5 separate regions of the Homo sapiens genome follow, and regions 1, 3, 4 and 5 are each linked to region 2. Evidence: promoter capture Hi-C in 16 types of primary human blood cells and fetal thymus (Javierre and others, 2016). All regions are on one chromosome and are shown on one strand. The core of a region is centred on a gene start or on the middle of the fragment in contact, and the rest is flanking DNA. Distances in the headings are between cores, read along the strand shown. Region 1 holds the start of NPIPB15 (nuclear pore complex interacting protein family member B15). Region 2 holds the start of TXNL4B (thioredoxin like 4B). Region 3 overlaps MLKL (mixed lineage kinase domain like pseudokinase). Region 4 overlaps RFWD3 (ring finger and WD repeat domain 3). Region 5 overlaps GLG1 (golgi glycoprotein 1).

The links. The method cuts DNA at HindIII sites, captures the fragments that hold promoters and counts their contacts. A CHiCAGO score of 5 or more calls a contact.
Region 1: the fragment with the promoter of NPIPB15 here is called in contact with the fragment with the promoter of TXNL4B in region 2 in 6 of 17 cell types (naive CD8 T cells, activated CD4 T cells, total CD8 T cells and 3 more); the score reaches 13.0 in naive CD8 T cells.
Region 3: a fragment that was not itself captured here is called in contact with the fragment with the promoter of TXNL4B in region 2 in 1 of 17 cell types (naive CD8 T cells); the score reaches 5.6 in naive CD8 T cells.
Region 4: a contact is called between a fragment that was not itself captured here and the fragment with the promoter of TXNL4B in region 2, in 1 of 17 cell types (total B cells). The highest score is 5.5, in total B cells.
Region 5: a contact is called between a fragment that was not itself captured here and the fragment with the promoter of TXNL4B in region 2, in 1 of 17 cell types (fetal thymus). The highest score is 6.8, in fetal thymus.

Annotation. Positions count from the first base shown.
Region 1 is chr16:74,375,001-74,377,700 of GRCh38, forward strand. NPIPB15 (nuclear pore complex interacting protein family member B15) reads left to right here and starts at 1,306. Exons shown (of 8, transcript NM_001306094.2): 1 at 1,306-2,346. The HindIII fragment of the contact is 9,807 bases long and covers 1-2,700 here.
Region 2 is chr16:72,092,189-72,094,888 of GRCh38, forward strand. It overlaps TXNL4B (thioredoxin like 4B), which reads right to left and starts at 1,432. Exons shown (of 4, transcript NM_017853.3): 1 at 1,179-1,432. It overlaps DHX38 (DEAH-box helicase 38), which reads left to right and starts at 1,659. Exons shown (of 27, transcript NM_014003.4): 1 at 1,659-1,863. RefSeq lists enhancers at 1,205-1,534, 1,545-1,594, 1,655-1,954. The HindIII fragment of the contact is 4,501 bases long and covers 966-2,700 here.
Region 3 is chr16:74,681,961-74,684,660 of GRCh38, forward strand. MLKL (mixed lineage kinase domain like pseudokinase) reads right to left here. Exons shown (of 11, transcript NM_152649.4): 6 at 691-826. Among named protein-coding and RNA genes, the nearest start is that of RFWD3, 16 kb to the left of the region's middle. RefSeq lists a silencer at 107-305. The HindIII fragment of the contact is 935 bases long and covers 871-1,805 here.
Region 4 is chr16:74,663,200-74,665,899 of GRCh38, forward strand. All of the region lies in intron 1 of RFWD3 (ring finger and WD repeat domain 3), which reads right to left. Among named protein-coding and RNA genes, the nearest start is that of RFWD3, 2.3 kb to the right of the region's middle. The HindIII fragment of the contact is 657 bases long and covers 1,059-1,715 here.
Region 5 is chr16:74,602,865-74,605,564 of GRCh38, forward strand. All of the region lies in intron 1 of GLG1 (golgi glycoprotein 1), which reads right to left. Among named protein-coding and RNA genes, the nearest start is that of GLG1, 2.9 kb to the right of the region's middle. The HindIII fragment of the contact is 3,850 bases long and covers 1-2,700 here.

The sequences.
Region 1 (2,700 bases), core at 56-2,555, 2.3 Mb after region 2:
GCTCTGGAACGAAGGATGCCTTTGGGAGGTGATGACACTCAGGTACACGGGTGCTCAACAGATTGCTTCCTCCTATCCTCAGATGGTCTTTGCATGCATGCAGCCATTGGCACTCCCATTGTACGCAAGGAAACCAGCCCAGGGTCACACAGCTGGTCAGCAGCAACACAGCTGGTCTCAAATCTAAGGTGCCTGGCCATGCCTCCATGAGGGACCGCCTGCAAGGGAGGTTGATCCTGGCTTTGGGGAGCCTTTCCTGGGCTGCACGAGTAACCTCCAATGTTTGAGGCCCCAAACTCTGCTCACATCTTCCTTTCCCTGTCTCTGCTTGGGCTATGATCACGGTGACTCTAGCAACCCTTCATGGACATTATAGTACTCTCTGCCATTCACTTTTGGTCTAATCTGACTTCAACCCCCACTTACTTGGTCTCTCCTTTTACAACCAACACAACCGAAATCCGAGGGCTTCTTTTTTTTTGAGACAGAGTCTCATTCCATTCTGTCACCCAGGCTGGAGTGCAATGGCACGATCTCGGCTCACTGCAACCTCCACCTCCTGGGTTCAAGGGATTGTCCTGCCTCAGCCTCCTGAGTAGCTGGGATTACAGGCGGGTGCCACCGTGCCTGGCTAATTTTTGTATTTTTAGTAGAGACGGGGTTTCACCATGTTGGTCAGGCTGATCTCGAACTCCTAACCTCGTGATCCGCCTGCCTCAGCCTCCCAAAGTGCTGGGATTACAGGCGTGAGCCACCATGCCCAGCCAAATCTAGGGCTGGAACATGGCTGCAGCATATAAATAGAATTGAATTCCATAGTTTTGTTAACCCTGTTTTTTGTTTGTTTGTAGTTGTTGCTGTTTTTGAGACTGAGTCTCGCTCTGTCGCCTAGGCTGGAGTGCAGTGGTGCAATCTCGGCTCACTGCAGACTCTGCCTCCCGGGTTCAAACTATTCTCCTGCCTCAGCCTCCCAAGTAGGTGGGACTAAGGCGCCCACCACCACACCCGGCTAATTTTTGTATTTTATTAGAGACAGGGTTTCACCATATTGGCCAGGCTGGTCTGGAACTCCTGACCTTGTGATCCACCCACCTCGGCCTCCCAAAGTGCTGGGATTACAGGCGTGAGCCACCACACCCAGCCCCTGTTTTGTTTTTGTTTTGCTTGTTTCTTAGGGTTGTTTTTCTATTTATGGTAAAGGCATTGGCTTTCCATTTGTAGCATCAATAGAATATTTCCTGTTTACAATAACCTTATGTCATAGTAAATGGTAAAGGGATTTAAAGCAGTGGTTTTCAGCTGCCAGAGGCCTGAGTGAGTTTGGGCACACTCTGTGTGATCGGGCAGAAGGCCTGTGGGAAGTTCAGCTGAGGACAGGGCCAGGAAAGGTGATGGACAGTGGGGGTCTGTCCTGGTCACCAGACCCCTGGGTCCTGCCCACCTGCTTGGAGCTCCCCACCCATCACACATGATGCTGCCAAGCCCTCTGGGTATTGTGGGCAAATACCTTAGGAGAGAAGCTGATGAACTTTGTTTCTTGAAATGCACAGATTCCTTGGACGTCCCTGAGAGGTCAATGATGAAGGTCAACTTGGTTTTCTCCCCCTCATTTGGGTTCAGAATTTAAAGTCCACACACACAGGCAGTAAGATGATTATAGATAAGGACATCATCACTCGGTTTCAGATGTTAAAATGTCTAGGTGGGTTAGGGGTGATTTGAGATCACACAACCTTGTGCCACAAAGAGGAATTCCCAGGCCAGGGGGAGACATTTTATTGCCATGTTATGATCTCATCATTGAGTTGAAAGGCAATCTTGTTTCATTTTGGATTCTTTCTTATGTTTATGTCTTATAAGGGCACTTTGAATTTCCAAGCAAATAATAATTTTGAATTAGCTTTTAATCATTGACTTCTAGCACAGTTATATGATCAGAAACATGCTGTGTGATTTGATTGCTCTCAAATATATTGAGATTTGCTGGAACAAAATAAGTCAGGTTAATTTTTGTAAATGTACCATGCATGCTTAAAATGAATGTATCTACATTTGTTCCTGAGATACAGGTTGATGGACGGATGGCTACATGGATGTGATGGAGATGGTTTACTATCGGGACCTTCCGCATCCTGCTGATGTTTTGTTGCTTAGGATATGAATGGCTGAGCGGAGGCTGTAAAACCTGGCACTCTGCTTGGGTATGAAGTTCTTCCTGCCATCCTGCCATCATTTGTTTTTTATGTTTTGTCGCCAAAAGTGACCTTGAGGAACCCTGGGAGCTCAGGAAGGAAGGAGAGCCCAGAAGCAGGGACAGGGAGCTGGTTGGGGAGGACCAGAAATCAGGTTTGTGAAGGTTCCAGAGAGGACCTGTCCTTGCGAGGAGTGTGGGAGACTGAGATGGGGGAGGGGTCATTGGAATGATGCGGGCGCTACTTGGCATTGTCCATTGTGAGGCACCACCGGGGTCATCAGGGATTGGTGGAGAGGGAGTATAAAGCCCCAGGGTTGCTAAGGGAGGGCCCAGACCGAAGAAGGTTTGGTGGATAGCAGAACCTTTTTGTCTCCCTCTAATTGCTCCTAAGCCTCACGCTCCCTTGCCCCACGTGTCCTGTTGCTTCCCTGATCTTCTCCGTGACCTGTAGCTAAACCTTCCACCAGCGCTTGAGAACTTAATTTGAACCGGATCCTTTCCCAGAC
Region 2 (2,700 bases), core at 182-2,681:
ACCTATGGCCAGGAATTCGAGACCAGCCTGGCCAACATGGTGAAACCCCGTCTCTACTAAAAATACAAAAAATTAGCCGGGCGTGGTGGCAGATGCCACCTGTAATCCAAGCTACTCAGGAGGCTGAGGCAGGAGAATTGCTTGAACCCTGGAGGCGGAGGTTGCAGTGAGCTAGGATCGCTCCACTGCACTCCAGCCTGGGCAAGGCAACAAGAGCGAAGCTCCGTCTCCAAAAAAAAAAAAAGGAATTATTTAACTAAAATTCACATAGGAAATAAGATTGTTCCAGCTATAGGTCATACTTTAAACAGGGACATTGATGGCCCAAAGGGACGTCATCAGATGTGAGCAGCAGAACAAATTACCAATGAAAGGGAAGGTCAAAGAGAAGACGGATCTGTCCCACTAGAATTCAAACAAACAGCAGTTCCTCCGTGTTACTGATCGAAAGGAGAAAGTAAGGGGAGAACAAAGTTGTTAGTGGTGAGGCTAGGGGTGCAACTGGACAAACGTTGGAAGCAGGAGAGGAAAACTGAGACCACATCTAAGAAAATGTCCATAGTAAATGATACCCACAGAGAATTCCCAAAAGAAGACGTACAAATGGACAGTAAATAAACTAAAAAGTTAAGCTTTACCAGTAAGCAAAGAAAAGCAAATTAAAACATATGTTTACAAAGTCACTGAATTGGCAAAAATTAAACAAGATAGTGGTAGGGGCAGGCACAGGGAGTTCCTGCTGGAATGCAGACACAAAACCTTTCTGGAAAGAAAACTGACATACTCTTTGACCAATAACTCCACTGCTTTCCTCTCTCCCTCTCTTTTTCTGAGGCGGGGTTTCGCTATGTTGCCCAGGCTGGTCTCAACTCCCCAGGCTCAAGCAATCCTCCCGCCTCAGCCTCCCGAGTAGCTGGAACCTCAGGCGCGCGCCACAACTGCAGAAACACCAAAAAAAGAAAAAAAGCTTGAACTCACTTTTGTACAGAATCTTACTACAATGTATTCCAGAAAAACAACTGGAAATCAGTGGTCATCTCTGCGTGTGAACGCATGGGTGATTTTTATTTACAGCCGGGCGCGCATCTCCATTTTCCAAAATATCCGATATACATATTTAAAGTCACCTGTGTTGCGCTGCTCCTGGCCCACAAGCGCTAAGGGACCCCAGCACTTACCTTACTCGTCCACGCCGCCTCACTCCCTTTCACTTTGTGGCTGTCAGCAACCACTTCTCGGAAGAGCCCGGGCGCGGACAGCTCCTTTCATCAGCCCCAAGCCGGACAGGACCCTAAGACCAAGTCACCCAGGGGCTGTTGCCTAGCAACCCTCGTGGCCCCGCTAGCGGGAAGGAAACCGAACAGAAAACGCACAAGCGCAGAAAAGAAACTCCTGGCCGTCGGTCGGCCCCCGCTCAACAGCCCAATAAACGGAAGAGCTTCTAGTCACCGCCCACCTTGCTCGGCTCTGACCGGAAGCTAGGCGTCACCTCCGCCCGTATTAAAGATGGTCGACCTTTTTCCCCTCCTTTTCCTGCCCCCAGACTAGAGGCGGGATGTAGTCTCTTAGGCTAAGAGTGATTGGTCACAAGGAGACTCGGAAGTGTCTGATCAGAGCCCCAGAGGAGGCCTTGAGAGCCTGTTGGCGTACCGTTCCACACTTGGATCCAGGAATCGGGCGTGTTCCAGGCTGCTCTCTATGGTAGCTTTGGGCGGATAGAGGGGGCGCGCAAAGTATTAAGGGACAATAATGGCCGCTTTCAAGGTGTGGATTTTGGCTCCTTGAGCCTGTCTGAGCGAGGGGTGGCAGCGCCGGCGCCCCAGAATCCGGGACAGAAGGGTCCCAAGAGTCGCGCTTGGTGAGGTGAGAGTCCCTTCTTCCTTCCTGGCCTGCCCTTCTGTAATCATGGCGGCTCTAGGCGGCGGATATTGGTCCCCTGCTCAGGTCCGGGCCCCAGTTTGGGGAGTTCCTCTGTCGTCCCTGTCACCCACCTTGCCTTACTCACCTCAGGGATGCTGCATCCGTCCTGGCCGCCTTGGCCTTCCTCCTTGCTCTGGTCAAATCCTGCTGCCTGGAGCGGCCTCGCTGAGATCCAGGGATGCTGCCTGGAGTGGCCTTGGTCCCTCTCCCAGGCCTCCGCTTTAACCCACCCCAGACTGTCACCGAGCCCGAGTAGGACTCCTTGTGTCTTCCTCTGCTCTCTCACAGTGTCATTTATACCAGGCAATCTGGTGGGCGATCTCTTCTACTAGAATGTCAGCTCCAGGTGGGCGGGGATTTTTGTCTTGTTCTCTGTTGCTATCGCCGAGAACAGCAATTGGCTCAGGGACACCCTCAGTGAATAATTGTTGAATGAATGAATCCAGGTTCTTTCTTCCCTGGCTTTCTCGTACGCCTTGTAGTTTCTTTGCCATTAATCCTTCTCAAGAATCTTGCTCTTTAGCTCCTTATTTGTTCGTCTCAGCAGCTAATGAAGTTCTCTCTGGCTGTCTCCTTGTCCTGTGTTGCTGGAATCTTCCCTTGCTGTCTCCAGAAATGTTTGGGTTCCTGTCCTCCTTTAATAAGTTTAAATTAATTCATTTTTTAATTTATCAAACGCTTATTTTGCTAGACATTGAGCTACAGCAGTCAACAACACATCCAGTGTTCTCTCAACTGCGTAGAATGGCAGTCCAGGGTACCTTTCCTAGTTTAGACAAC
Region 3 (2,700 bases), core at 88-2,587, 2.6 Mb after region 2:
TGAGACTGGGTGCAGTGACTCATGCCTGTAATCCCAGCACTTTGGAAAGCTGAGGCAGGAGGATTGCTTGAGCCCAGTAGTTCGAGACCAGCCTAGGCAGCATGGCAAAACCTTATCTCTACAAAAAATATATATAAAAAAAAAACTGGCTGAGTGTAGTGGTGTGCGCCTGTAGTCCCAGCTTCTCAGGAGGCTAAGGTAGGAGAATCCCTTCAGCTCGGGAGGTTAAGTGATCTGTGATCATATCAGTGCACTCCAGTCTGGGCAAGAGAGTGAGACTCTGTCTCAAAACATAAAATAAAATTTGATATTTTTGATATTTAGTATAAGTATATACCATGCAATGTTTAGGATGCACTTATACTAAAAAATGATTCATTACTTTCCTAACGTTCAAATTTAACTGGATATGTTCATTTTTATGCTAAATCTGTCCACTCCAAAATTAGGGCTCATCCAACTCTATAAGTGCAGTGTGGACATCAATTTCAACCGTCAGTTCTGGGAGCTGGTGTTCCCTGGGTTAAGCCTCTTTCCTCCCTCCTATCTGTAATCAGAGTAAATAGTAAAACAGTGTATGGGAGGGAGACTGTCTGGGGCGTCTGGCCTGTTCTCTCACCATCTCTGGGAGTATCAGGAGTGTGGACAGACCCATCCAACCCTTAGTGGCGCCTTTTCACCCCGTCTTACCGGTATAGGCCTCGGGCTGCCCCCAGGACTAGGACCATGCGCTTGCCAAGTGTGAGGTCTTTTTCCCTATCCAACAGCTCCCTCAGGGTCCCGAGTTCACAGTACTCCATGACAATGGAGAATTGAGGCGGAGTCACTGGTGGAAAGGAGCCAGACACTATGAGGACCCGCCCTACTTGAAGCTTCCCATGTCTGCAGCCCACCTCTCCCAGCCTCGGTACAGATACAGACTTGGCTCTGCTGAGTCCCATTTCTCCCCCAATCCTCAGCCCACAGTTTTGGTCCCCGGCCTCCTTGAATGGACCAAATATGCCCAGAATTCCCATCCTCTTCTCCATAATACTTGGCTTGTCGTAATTCTACCTTAAAAAAAAAATTGGCTGGGTGCGTTGGCTCATGCCTGTAATCCCAGCACTTTGGGAGACCAATGTGGGTGGAACACAAGGTCAGGAGTTTGAGATCAGCCTGGCCTACGTGGTGAAACCATGTCTCTACTAAAAATACAAAAATTAGCTGGGTGTGGTGGCAGGTGCGTGTAATCCCATCTACTTGGGAGGCTGAGGCAGGAGAATCACTTGAAGCTGCGTGGCAGAGATTGCACCACTGCACTCCAGCCTGGGCAACAGAGTGACACTACATCTCAAAAAAAAAAAAAAAATGTTCTGCCAGGTGTGGTGACTCACGCCTGTAATCCTGGCTCTTTGGGAGGCTGAGGCTGGTGGATCACTTGAGGCCAGGAGTTCGAGACCAGCCTGGCCAACATGATGAAACCTCGTCTCTATGAAAAATGCAAAAATTAGCCAGGTGTGGTGGGACATGCCTGTAGTCCCAGCTATTAGGGAGGCTGAGGCAGGAGAATTGCTTGAACCTCGGAGGTGGAAGCTGCAGTAAGCATATTGTACCACCGCACTCCAGCCTGAGTGACAGAATGAGACTCTGTCTCAAAAAAAAAAAAAAAAAATTCTTTTTCTTTTTCTTTTTTAACTTCTATCTCCCTTTCTTGGTATAATTCAAAATTTTCTTGAGCAGTTATTTGGCGAATGTCTTCCTCACTCAACTGGATTCCCAAGAAGGCAGGAAATGTGTCTGTCTTGTTCACATGGGTGCTCACAAGAAGCTTCGTACATCTGTGTGGGAGGAATGAGTAGGGCACACATGGCAGGGGCGGGTGAGGACTCAGACAAGAAGTCGACTTCCCCATTCATGGGCCTGAGCTGCAAAACTGACATGTGACTGAGCCAGGCACCTCAGCGGTCCCCAAGGAGAACAAACGTTGCTGAACATTTGTCTTTATTTTTTATTTTTTAATTTTTTTGAGACAGAGTCTAGCTCTGTCACCCAGGCTGGAGTGCAGTGGCATGATATTGGCTCACTGCAACCTCCGCCTCCCAGGTTCACGCAATTCTCCTGCCTCAGCCTCCCGAGTAGCTGGGACTACAGGCACCCACCACCACGCCCAGTTAATTTTTATATTTTTAGTAGAGACAGGGTTTTATCATGTTGGCCAGGCTGGTCTCAAACTCCTGACCTCAGGTGATCCACCTACCTTGGCCTCCCAAAGTGCTGGGATTACAGATGTGAGCCACCGTGCCTGGCCTACGTTTCCCTTTAGATTGGGATTCCACACTCTGAAATCAAGTTGGCCTGAGGCTGTGGAGCAACTTCCAAAGGGGATAAGACAGGAGTTGCTCTGTCCAATCTCTAGGCAAGACGGCAGCAAAACATGACCAGCAGGAGGGGTCATTCCATGAGAGAAAATGCAGTCACATTGGGAAAAAAAGAAAAAAAAAAAAAAAAAAAGAGCCTGTCACATAAGGCTCTTGGTAGAGGGGTAAAGTAATGGTTTTTTTTTTTGTTTGTTTGAGACAGAGTCTCACTCTGTCACCCAGGCTGGAGTGCAGTGGCATGATCTCGGCTCACTGCAAACTCCGCCTCCCAGGTTCAAGCAATTCTCCTGCCTCAGCCTCCCGAGTAGCTGGGACTAGAGGCATGTGCCACCACATCCGGCTA
Region 4 (2,700 bases), core at 137-2,636, 2.6 Mb after region 2:
GGCCAATACTCATGTTTCTTAAAATCATCAAAGCAGATTAAACCACCTGAGGAACAGAATGACAGAAGAGGGCTGAAGACTAAAGTCAGAGACACTACTGTTAAAAGTACAACAGAGTAAAAGAAGCCAGTTAAGGAAGATTATAAAGTAGGAGGAAACATGGGAATGTGGTGTCTTGGAAAAACAATGTTTCAAGGAAGGAACAATTGAGTGTCAAGTGCTACTGGGGGGAAGAACGGCCGCTAGATTTGGCAACATGAGGATGACAGGTGACCTAAAAAAGCAGTTTCCCTGAAGTGGTGGGGTCAGAGGCCAGACTGGTGCAGGCTGAATAAATGGAAGGAATTCTAATAAACATAGTGGACGAAGTACATATATGTATCTTTCTCTCTCCACTCCAGTCATTCCTAAAACCCACGAACATGACCCCCACAACCTGAGACATTTTTTTAAGAAAGGATAAATTAACCAGGACGACACAAATGCAAACAGGGTATGATATGCAAACCAGTTTTTTAAGGCCATAAAGGAGAAACTGATGATTGATGACTGCTTAGCAGAGCCAAAAGATAAAACTCAAAGCCTGCAAAGGGCACAGTGGTTGGGGTGAGGTGTGTTATTGAGAAGCAAGCTGATTCCCACTAAAGGGACTGTAAAAACCAGGTACCACAAAAGGCAATATTGAAAGATGGCGCTAAAAGAGAAGGGCTGGTTAAAAGCCAGTAAAGCAGTTAGCTTGACTCCTACTCAAACACCAGCCAGCTAAAACAAAACACAGAACAAAGCCCTTCTCCCCCTATGCACGAGAAAACTGGAGGTTTGAACCACACAGGCTTACACTCAGGATGGAGAGTGGCACAGTACTGAAAATAAGTGGGAAAGAAAGTCTGCAAACTGAACAATGTGAGATACTTCAAGTTTTAAACATTTTTTGTATAGATGGGGTTTCCCACGTTGCCTAGGCTGGTCTTCAACTCCTCGGCTCAAGCAACCCTTCTGCCTCAGCCTCCCAAAGTGCTGGGATTACAGGAGTGAGCTACTGCAGCTGCCTAACTAAAAGCTTTTAATGTTTCTAGGGTACAACGACAGTCTCCCAAGAATTGTGTGTCAGAACATAAGGCCCAAGCTACTTCTAGATGTACTCAAGAGACATTAAGCAACTCAGCCTTCAGGAAGACAAAGGGGAGAAATGGACTAAAAAGAGCAGAATCTAGGGGGCCGCACTGTCTACTCCCATATGGTTATTTAAATTAAATAAAAATCAAATTCGGCCAGGAGCTGTGGCCCACGCCTATAATCCCAGCACTTTGGGAGACTGAGGCAGGTAGCTGGAGACCAGGAGTTGGAGACCAGCCTGGGCAACACGGCAAAACCCCGTCTCTACAAAAAATACAAAAAAATTAGCCAGCCGTGATGGTGTGCACCTGTGGTCCTAGCTACTTGGGAGGCTGAGGCAGGAGAACCCCTTGAACCCGGAGAGTGGAGGTTACATTGAGCCGAGATCACGCCACTGCACTCCAGACCGGGAGAGAGAGTAAGACTCCGTCTAAAAAAAGAAAAAAGAAAGAAATAAAATAAGTTCCTTTGTCGTGCAGGTCACATTTCAACTGCTAGAAACACACATAGGGCGGGTGACTCCCATACTGGACAGCAGAAATACAGAACACTTTTCTCGTCGCACAAAGTTCTATGGAACGGTGCAGTTCTGGAGCTGAAGCTTCCTAACCACTGTAGGCCAGTCGGAGGTGCCTAGAACGAGAGACCATGGGCTGGGCACCCCAAACCTTGAGGATGTCACACAAACGCTGTTTTTTATGTGTGCTGTGAGCGGTGCTTAAAATGTCAACCTCAGACTTGTCATCTTTGTTACTCAGGTTTCAATCAATGGCCACAACAGGCAGGACGAAAGCCCCTCAATTAAAGGTTGAGAAGAGGTGGGCGGGGGAAGTGTTCAAATCTTTGCTCTGGCCGGTGCAGAGGGTCACGCCTGTGATCCCTGGACACTGAAATGCCCAGGCGGATGGATCACTTACGCTCTGGTGTTCCAGACCAGCTTGGGCAACACAGTGAAATTCCCATCTCTACCAAAAAAGAAAAATAGAACAGGTCAGGCGCGGTGGCTCACACCTGTAATCCCAGCACTTTGGGAAGCCGAGGGCAGACCACTTGAGGTCGGAGTCCCAGAATGGCCAATATGGTGAAACCCCGTCTCCACTAAAAATACAAAAACTACCCGGGTGTGGTGGCGCATGCCTGTAATCCCAGCTACTTGGGAGGCTGAGGCAGGAGAATCGCTTGAACCCGGGAGGCAGAGGTTGCAGTGAGCCGAGATCGCACCACTGCACTCCAGCAGGGGCAACAAAGCGAGACTCTATCTCAAAAAAAGAAAGAAAAAAGAAAAATAAAACAATGAGCCGGGCGTGGTGGCGCGCACCTGTGGTCCCAGCTATTGCGGGAAGCCGAGGTGGGAGGATCCCTGGGGCCCGGGAGTTCGAGACTGCAGTGAGCTCTTCCAGCCTGGGTGCAACAGGGAGACTTTTCTTTCTTTCTTTCTTTCTTTTTTTGAGATGGAGTTTCACTCTTGTTGCCCAGGCTGGAGTGCAATGGCGTGATCTCAGCTCACTGCAACCTCGGCCTCCCGGGTTCAAGCGATTCTCCTGCCTCAGCCTCCCGAGTAGCTGGGAAATGGGGTTTCTCCAT
Region 5 (2,700 bases), core at 41-2,540, 2.5 Mb after region 2:
GTAAGAAAATCTATGGGGCACGCACAATGGCTCATGCCTGTAATCCAGCAGTTTGGGAGGCCGACGCAGGCAGATCACCTAAGGTGAGGAGTTCAAGACCAGCCTGGCCAAGGTGATGAAGAGGCTGAGACAGGAGAATCACTTGAACCCAGAAGGCAGAGGTTGCAGTGAGCCAAGATTGTGCCACTGCACTCCAGCCTGAGCAACAGGGCAAGACTTCGTCTCAAACAACAACAACAACAACAACAGCAGCAGCAGCAGCAGCAGCCAGGCGCAATAGCTCATGACTGTAATCCCAGCACTTTGGGAGACCAAGGTGGGCAGATCATGAGGTCAGGAGATCAAGACTATCCTGGCCAACATGGTGAAACTCTGTCTCTACTAAAAATACAAAAATTAGCTGGGCGAGGTGGTGCGTGCCTGTAATCCCAGCTACTTGGGACGCTGAGGCAGAAGAACTGCTTGAACCAGGGAGTCAGAGGTTGCAGTGAGCCGAGATCACACCACTGCACTCCAGCCTGGCAACAGAATAAGACTCCGTCTCAAAAAAAAAAAAAAAAGAAAATCTAATCTATGAACATCACAAACTTTTTATTAGAGACGGTGTCTCACTATGTTGCCAGGCTGGTACTGAACTCCTAGCTCAAGCAATCCTCCTGCCTCAGCCTCCCAAAGGGCTAGGATTTCAAGTGTGAGCCACTGCGCCCGGCTGAACACCACAAACTTCTAAGGAACCAAGGTCTCCATCTGAAACTTCGAAATACAAGACACTAGTGGAAAAAAAAAAAGTGCTACTGGCCATTTCAACCAAGAATAAGTAAAGTATTTTAAAATGACTGACAACATCAAGCATGCCTTCCTTATCACATACTAAGCAACAGTATCTTCTCTTTCTTTGGTATTATTACTCCACCTACTAGAACAGCCCAGGGAATATTTTTTCTTTTCTGCCTTACACTTTCTAATTTTTTGTTTTTATTTAAATAACTTGAACTACTAATAATTATACACACACAACTAGGACTACTAACACACCATTACTGGCTATTACATCTATTATTTCATAGTGGACCCATGATATACTTGGCCTTTTTAAAAGCATGACTCATCCGAGAGCGTTAAAAAAAAAAAAAAAGAATCCCAAGGCCAGGCACAGTGGCTCACAACTCTAATCCCAGCACTTTGGAAAGCCCAGCTGGGAAGATCACTTGAACCCGGAATGTGGAGGCTTCAGTGAACTCTCAAACCCAGAAGACTGAGGCTGCAGTGAGCTATGACTGCACCACTGCACTCCAGCCTGGATGACAGAGCGAGACCCTGTCTCCATAATAAAAAATTTTTTTTCAGAAAGAAAAGTTCCATAAGGTTCCAAAAAGCAAAAGTTAAGTTTGACATATGCCAAGTACTACAGTGAATCCACATGAATGAACTGATATGTAGGCACTGTACTAGGTATCACAAGTATTTTAGAGAAGACAAGAATTCGGAAGGGTGTGCACAGATGATATGGAAATACGACACCATTTTATACGGTATAAGGTACTTGAGCGTCCTTGGATTTCAATATCTGCAGGAGGCCTGGAACCATCCTCCAGTGATACCAAGGAACAACTGTACTCATATGCTCTGCCTTTTCATAATTCCAATAATGGGTACGGATAGGAAAATGTTCCCTGCATTTGCATGCAAAGGGACAGAAAAGTACATATATCTATTTCACTATCAAATAGTTCTACTTACTGAACAGCAAATACAAAACATATTCTATACATGTTTCTTCAAATGTGCCTAACTAGTTTACTTCTTTAAGTTATGCTCTTTCAAACACATAGATCAGATTTAATTAACTCCCAGACTAAGCAGAATGAAATTTCCTTTCGCTGTCTTTAAAGAAAAAGAAAATAGGGTGGGGGTGGTGGCTCACACCACTAATCTCAGCACTTTGGGAGCCCGAGGCTGGCAGATCACAAGGTCAGGAGATCGAGACCATCCTGGCCAACATGGTGAAACCCTGTCTCTACTAAAAATACAAAAATTAGCTGGGCGTGGTGGCGCTCGCCTGTAGTCCCAGGTACTCAGGTGGCTGAGGCAGAATTGCTTAAAGCCGGGAGGTGGAGGTTGCAGTGAGCCAAGTTCAAGCCACTGCACTCCAGCCTGGCGACAGAGTGAGACTCCATCTCAAAAAAAAGAAAAGAAGTTTAAAAATAACTCCACCTCCTGAAGAATACACATAGGTGTTCACAGTACTCTTCCTTCATTATTTCTGTATGTAAAAACTGGAGGAAAAAACATTAAATTGGAAATTTGGTCCCTCCACCTCCCCCCAACCCCCCAAAACCCCCATTTCCAATTTATATGACGCCTTTCCTCCTCTGGAGCATAAAACTGCCTCCTTTAAGTGGAGGTTTCCAAATGTCCGGAATACACATGAAGGATATATACACTCCTTGAATAGGCCACTTTTTGCCACTTTCCCTAATAATGTGCTGTTTCTACCACAAACTACTACTAATTGTTTGGTCACCAGTATTAGGATCCTAGTTTGATGAAACGACATCTATTATGTGTCCTCAAAGAGCGAAAAGAAAATTCCAAAAAGTTCGACAGAGTTAGGAATATTAGCTGTATCTACCAGAGGACTATCCCTCTAGTCGTTAAGCTGAAGATGAGAAGTCAGGTAAGGCCTCACATTTCTAGGGG